2 separate regions of the Homo sapiens genome follow, and region 1 is linked to region 2. The links are contacts of gene promoters, found by promoter capture Hi-C in blood cells and fetal thymus (Javierre and others, 2016). All regions are on one chromosome and are shown on one strand. Each heading gives the region's core, a stretch centred on a gene start or on the middle of the fragment in contact. The rest is flanking DNA. Distances are from core to core; before and after follow the strand shown.

The links. The method cuts DNA at HindIII sites, captures the fragments that hold promoters and counts their contacts. A CHiCAGO score of 5 or more calls a contact.
Region 1: a contact is called between a fragment that was not itself captured here and the fragment with the promoter of HTATIP2 in region 2, in 1 of 17 cell types (activated CD4 T cells). The highest score is 5.4, in activated CD4 T cells.

The regions. Positions count from the first base shown.
Region 1 is chr11:30,314,841-30,318,466 of GRCh38, reverse strand. All of the region lies in intron 1 of ARL14EP-DT (ARL14EP divergent transcript), which reads left to right. Among named protein-coding and RNA genes, the nearest start is that of ARL14EP-DT, 6.3 kb to the left of the region's middle. The HindIII fragment of the contact is 723 bases long and covers 1,416-2,138 here.
Region 2 is chr11:20,361,275-20,365,037 of GRCh38, reverse strand. HTATIP2 (HIV-1 Tat interactive protein 2) reads right to left here and starts at 1,324. Exons shown (of 5, transcript NM_001098522.2): 1 at 606-1,324. The coding sequence starts at 800. RefSeq lists silencers at 975-1,117, 904-1,323. The HindIII fragment of the contact is 1,649 bases long and covers 776-2,424 here.

The sequences.
Region 1 (3,626 bases), core at 528-3,027, about 10 Mb before region 2:
GAATAGTTTGTCTTCCCATAAGCAGGAGCAGATTGACAGACCTTGTAAGAAGCACTTATTTGTTTCTACCAATCAAAGTAACAGTAGGAGCTGGGCCAGGTTGGTCTTTCTCTCTCTCTTTCTGTCTCCACGTGGGCTCTTTGCTTAGGCTAGTTTGGTCTTCCTCACAGCATGACAGCCAGAAGGTAGTTGGATTTATTACATGGTGTCTCAGAGCTCCCAGGGTTTGTGCTCCAGGAAGCAAGGTGAAAGCCTCTTTGCCTTTCATGACTTAGCCCCTGGAAACACATAGCGTCACTTCCACTGAATTCTCTTGGTTATGTGGGAGTCATTGAGCTTGCCCCAGATTCACAGGAAAGAAACATAATCTTTACCTCTTGATGGGAGGAGTGTCAAAAAACATATTTTTTTAAAATGCTACAATACTTATCCTAATGCATACAATAGCATGGTCTGGTGTCAAATCTAATAACTACCATAATTGCAAAGTAGTAATGAATATGAATATATCCTGAGATATCTGTAACAACTATAATGTGACACAAAAAATTATGTGATTTCTGTTGGTGACAAAGTTATAGACACTGTAAACAAAGTTATTAGTACTGCAGCAGTACTAATAGGCACTGCTAATACTATTATTTGTTGCCTGCCTTTTGTAAATAAATGAAATGCTAAATTTCAATTAGAGGTTAGGAAAAATAAAGAGAAAGCTTGCTAGGGACATAGAACAGCATTTAGGACCTAGATGAAGTTAGAGACCATGAATATGCAGAGACATAAATTAATGATGTGAAAATTTCAATTTTTCTCCTAGTGTATAGTTGCCCTTGTGTGGGACCAGTGAAGGCAGACAACAGAATTAATTTAAGCAAGAGCAGTTGACGGTTAGATGTGTAAGAAGGACAAGAGACAAGAGAGTTTAGGGTTTTTTCATGGAAGTCATTAGATGGTGAGAATCATGAGATAAGACATAAGGTCAGTTTAATTTACTATAGTATTCCAGGAGCCTAGCACTATTAGTTGAGTAAGTGGAATTGTTGAAGTGATAAATCTCTTCAAATAAACAAATGAACGAAAGAGGGAAAGCTGGTTGAGAATGAAAAGAAATGGAGCTTTCAAAATCAAAATTGAAGGCAAGGAGGTGAAATCTGTGATCAAACTGAAACAATGAACAGTTGTGGTCAGAGAGTGGAACTGAAGTTTAGGATATCAGCTAGTGAGGTAGTTTCCTGTGAGAAATTCACAGCTTCTCATTAAACGCACTTGGGAAAGTGCAAAGGAGCCAAGAATTAGGAAAAAAGAGAAACATTTGCATGCAAGAATCCCAAGTTTGGGATGAGATGGCATGTACTCTGAAAGGGAATGAGGGGAATGAATTCTTAGTAATTGTTTTCATTTCCTTTGTGTAAGCTTTCATACTGAATTTTGACATACCACAAAGAAGTACACAAGTTCTAAGTCTATAGCTTGATACATTTTTATATTTGTATAACCACTACCCAGGTCAAGAAATTATGAGCTCCCCAGAAGTCTCTTGTATGCTGTCTCCTAGTTGTGAGCACCTTTTACCAAAGGTAACCACCATTCTAACTTCTTTGACCATAGATTGGTTTTGGTTATTTCTGGACTTTGAGCTTTGGAATTGTACCACATATATTCTTTTGTGTCTGGCTTCTTGTGGTCAGTATTATGTCCTTGAAATTCATTGATGCTGTATGACATCGTAAGCAATTAAATATTTGTCATTGCTGAGTGGTATTTCTATTACGTGAAACCGACAACATTTTCTTTTATCTCTTTCACTGTTGATGGACATTGGGTTCATTCAATTTGGGGCTTCTACAAATAATGCTGCAACAAACATTTGAACATTCTGTCTTTTGGTCCACATACATTTACACTTTCATTTGGATATGTAGTAGGGAGTGGAATTGCTGGATTATAGGCAATGTGTATGTTCAGTTTGAGTACATACTGCTGAAGAGTTTTTCAAAGTGGTTGCATCAATTTACATTCCTTCTAGCACCAATTTACACTCATAAACATACTCACCACCACTTGGAGTTCTCAGTTGTTATTGTTGGCTTTCATTTTAGTTATTCTGGAGGGTGCGTAACTAATTGCTTTCTAAAGCTTCAGTATCCTCCTTGGGGCATGAAACAAAACTCTAAGTGGGCTCTGGAATCAGACTGCCTGGTTCAAATCCTGGCTTAGCCACTAGTAGGATAATGTGTAGAAATTACATTAATTCTCTAAGCTTCAAATTCTTATCTGTAAAATAGAGAAAGTAGCATCTGCCTTATAGGGTTTTTGTGGGGAATAAATGAATATGTGTTTGTGTATGTGTGTGTGTTTGTGTATAACTTTTTATATATATAGTTTAGCATAGTGCCTGGCACATAGTGAGTTCTCAATAAGTGGTAGCTATAATTATTCTTGCTACTATTTATGGACCTCCAGTTATGTCTGAAAACACTGGAATGATAAGCTCACATGTATTATCTCATTCATGACATGGTATATTTCAATCTGGAAAGATGGGTATTAAATTTAAAAGAAGTGGAGTCATTATTTGAACTAGTATCCCCTAACCTCACACCCACCTTGGCCTTGCTTTCCTTATAACAATATTTAAGAGTCAGTTGATTTAAAGAAATGTGATATAGGGGATTTAACTAATGACTGGGCAGAAGGACAGATTGAAACTGTGTTTTTCAGCAGTTCTTCTGATTTGTCTCATTTAAAGTAAAGATTTCAGACTGTTGTGGGGGTGGCGTAGGGGAAGGAAATACAGATTTGTTCACAGCTGCTATTCAAAATACTAGCCATATAACTAGGAAAGAATTTGGCTCAAATAAAAACCCCAGGGCTCTTTATTGCCATCACAATCATTATTGTGTCAATTAGGATTCATCTGGGTGTCCACAGTGTGTTTGGCACAACGTCAAGGAAGGAAGCTGATGGTTACAGGAACCATTTTGGTTACATCTTCGAATGACCAAAATGGTGTGAATTAAATGCAGAAATTAATTATTAAAAATTAATAATTCAACAGCACTGGGAACAAAAAAACTAGAACTGGAAAAGGATTTAACAATTCTGTTGCATAGCTTCCTCATTTAGAGGTTGATGAGACTTAGTTCCGTAAATGGTAATGTTATACAACTAACATATAAATGACAATCTGTAAAGCTTGTACAACCAGTAAGTAATAGGGATAGTCAAGACTCACACCCAGGTTGTCTTTCTAAAAATGCAGTGTTTTTCCTACTCAATCAGGCTGCATCTCAATCTGTAAGAATCATATTCTTAGAAAACTAGAAAACATAATATCTATTTATAATATTAATATCAATTACTTCTTTTGAATTGCTCTTTTGGAAAATTGGTCAAGCCACTAGATTCTACTTGTTCTATCTATTTTGTATTAGTCATTATCTGTGATAAGAAGAGAAGGTAATGATGGCTTTGGTGGGGATGCTCTAGCTTTGGTGGAGCTTATTTAGATGAACATTATGAGCATTCTAAATATTTTTGGAAAAAATTACAAAACATTATAGATATTTTTGAGATTCCTTGAAAAAATTTCATATGGGCCTTTGGACAGATCTTTGAAGAGCAAT
Region 2 (3,763 bases), core at 75-2,574:
CACTCCAGCCTGGGGGACAGAGTGAGACTCCGTCTCAGAAAAAAAAAAAAAAAAACCTTTAACTTAGAGTGAAGGGAATATCCGATTTACAGACACAAGCCTGGGAAGTCAGGCAGGGCAAATTCTTGTAAGTGAATAATCCCACCTTTCACTGCCATAGACCTATCTCACTCTGCAAAGCAGTTTCAGAATCCCTGACAATATTAGTGTGAAGTGCGCAGGTTGACAAAATCAGCAAAGTGGCTGAGAAAATTCTCAAGGTCACCAGGGCTGCCTCTAGAATACAGCTTGTATGACCCTGAAAACAGTGCTCTTCTGTCTCACCAGCCCCCACCCCCATTACAACCCAGACCCAGCTTTATAGGGTTGCAGATGGAGAGAAGGGCTTTGCCCAAGACCACACAATGAGCGGGAGGGAGGCACACCTGGGCTACAATCCAGGAGTCAGACTTCTGGGAGGGACTCTCACAGACCAATCTTGGCCAAGTTTTGATGGCCTCTCACTACCCCCACCACTGGCAGGGCAGTATTCAGCCTTTAGGCATGAAATATGTTCACCTCGCAGAATCCTGGGGGTCCATTTGAGTCCCAGCTGAAATACCCACCACATTTTTATAAGCTTCCTCGTCGAAGGTGAGCTTCCTCCGGCCAATGAGCGTGACTTTGGAAAACAGGCCCTGCTCCAGGATTTCCTTTAAGAGCACTCTGCCGGTTTCTCCGCTGGCGCCCAAAATAAAGACGGATTTATTCTGCATCCTGAAGTCTTCCCGAAGCTTCGACAGGGCTTCTGTTTCGGCCATGCTGGGGAAATAACATCGACAGATGCCGGTCTTAGGGTGTCAGGGGACTGCCAGTCCTTATCCCGAGGAACAAGGGCTGTTTATCTGTTAGGGAGGAGGATATTGTTCTCCGCAGTCCGGGCTCTGGGGAAAGTGCTGAGTCACGTGCGGGGCGCGGCTCCCCGGCCATCGCCCGCACCTGAGCCAGCAGACCCATCGGAAGGGGCCCGAGCTGGAGGGTGCGCCCAGGTGCCACAAGCTGCTGGCATCACTGGGCATACCCCACGGTATCCCCGGCCCGGCCAGGAGACCTGGCCCAGCTCGGTCCCATACGCGGAGGGGTTACCTGGGGCCAGCCCCCGGCCCCGGGTCCTCACGACGCAGCAGGAGCAGGGCGGCCGCCAGAGCAGCCGCCGCCGCCGCGCTCAGCGCCGCAGGCCCGGCCATCAGAGCATCCCACCTTCCCTGGTCGGACCGGGGGGGTTGGAGGCGACGGAGACAGCGCCTACCCGGCTTGGTCTTCCGGGTGGCCTCGCGGCGACGCTGCCTCGCCCCGCCCACAGGGGCGGGACCTGGAGACGAACTCCTGGCACCCTCACAGGCGCGGGGAAGGTGACCCCGAGAGCACGTGCGCGGAGCCGCGACCCTTCCTAAGTTTGGAATCTGCAAGACCCTCTTCCCGCGTTTTCCCTCACCTGCTGGGCTCAGCTCACCCAGGCGCCAGCTAGTAGACTTGCCAGACTTGATCTTCAATGGTCCCCCCAGCTGGAATGTCAATTGTATATTGGCCATCATCTCAAATTCACCAAGTCAAAAACTTAACCCTGCCTACCCAACCACCCCAAACAGGAATAAAACAAACCTATTCCTAGCCTCTCTTGGGTGTCACTGTCCCTACATAAACATACACACACACACGCACACACACACACACCTCCTTCTACCCTGTCAAGTCAGAAATCAGGATTCCTTTGATTCCTTTCTTTTCTAGCCTTTCCACACTACAGACTTATCAAGTCCTGTTATCCCATCTGCCTTACAAATATTTCTCCCATGTAATTCAAGCTCGCATCATATCTCCCCAGAATAAATGGTCTACCTGCCCAGGTCCTGGCCTAATTCATCACCTAGATGGTTGAACCCGGGTGACCTTCCACACCTGTGATTCAGTCTTCCTAGCCCAGATCAGTGGTTTGGGACACAGGTATCTACACTGGGCCTGTCCTGGATCTTGGAAGTCCTGAACAGAGGTTAGAATGACAAGCAGAAATCTGAATAATTTCAGATTGTTCAGGTTTTGTTGGGAACATTGGTCATTTGGGGGCCCCACCTCCCATCTAGAAGCCAATGAAACACATTGCCTCTTCCATCTCCATGGGAGTTATTATATGTAGGCTTTGCCTAGGCTCAGCAAGCCAGAGGCTCACGCATAGGTTTTCAGTTTTGGAGGAGTAATGAAAAGATGCAGTGAAGGCCTGAGATATATGTGGGTTGGTTGGGGCAAGGGTATAGGATTATGGCATCATATGATCCACCAGCCATCTGATGGTCTGATCTTGTCTTAAATTCCTGCCTGTTTTCAGAGACTGTTGTGAATACAGTACTTCCTGTTATTCTTCTGATAAATTCCTGTGCTGTATAAGCTTACCAGATATATTCTGTTGTTTGCAATAAAAAAGCTTGATTAATATAGAGCAGTGTGGTTCATTCCCCACTGGCCTGTCACAGTGCCTGGACTCTTCCCTTTGAGTTCCTAAAGGTTTTCTACAAGAATGCAATGTTAAACCTTGTCAGCAAACACTGTCCTAGTAATTCATTTATCAAATCTGTCACAGAAATTATTCATTGTACCCTGTCTATTCTTCCCCTTTGTTTAAAATTGTGGCATAATTAATATACAATAAAATGTACAGAACCTAAAGGTTCTGTTCCATGATTTTAGGAGATTGTATATACACCTAAATAACCACCACCAAAAACAAGATATAGAGCATGTCTGCCATCCCTGAAAGTGCCTTCATTCCCTTCTTGCAATCTCTCCCCACTCCAGAGGTAATCACTTTCTGGTCACTATCAACATAGATTAGTTTTGCCTGTTGTAGAATTCTATTTAAGAGTACAGCATGTACTCTTTTGTGTCCCAGGTTTTTGGCTTAACACATATTTTAGTATTTATTCTTGTTTGTAGGCCTGCATTATGATTTCTATGGGCCCTAAGCACTTCATGAGCCCCTTCATTTTATGTACACACACTATATAATCAAAAATTATGTCTTATGACTATGTTGCTATAAAGATGAATATGACAAACTATTTATATAATCAAAAATTATGTCTTATGACTATGTTGCTATAAAGATGAATATGACAATTTCTTTCACCTAAAACATTTTCTTCCACCTAAAAGTTTATTTTCACAGGCCCCAGAACTGTGCCTACTGTGCCAAATGAGTAAATCAGCCCTGGTTGTTTCATGTATCAGGAATTCATTCCTTTTTATTGCTGAGTAGCCTTCCAGTATTCCAGTATGAATATCCCACAACATGTTTAAATATTCTCCTGTTGATGGACATTTGGTTTGTTTCTACCTTTTGGCTAATTATGAATAAGGCTCCTATGAACATTATTGGACCAGTCTTTCTGCAGTAACATGTTTTCATTACTCTTGGACATATATATACACACACACACACACACATATAATGTTTTATATATATATATAATGTGTATATATATATAAAATGTGTATATATATAATGTGTGTATATATAATGTGTATATATAATGTGTATATATATAATGTGTGTGTATATATAATGTGTGTATATATATAAAATGTGTATATATATATATAAAATGTGTATATATATATAAGATGTGTGTGTGTGTGTGTATATATATATATATATATATATATATATATATATATATATATATAATATAATGACCCTGCAGGCAATCAGACCTTTTGGTTGTCTTCCCTT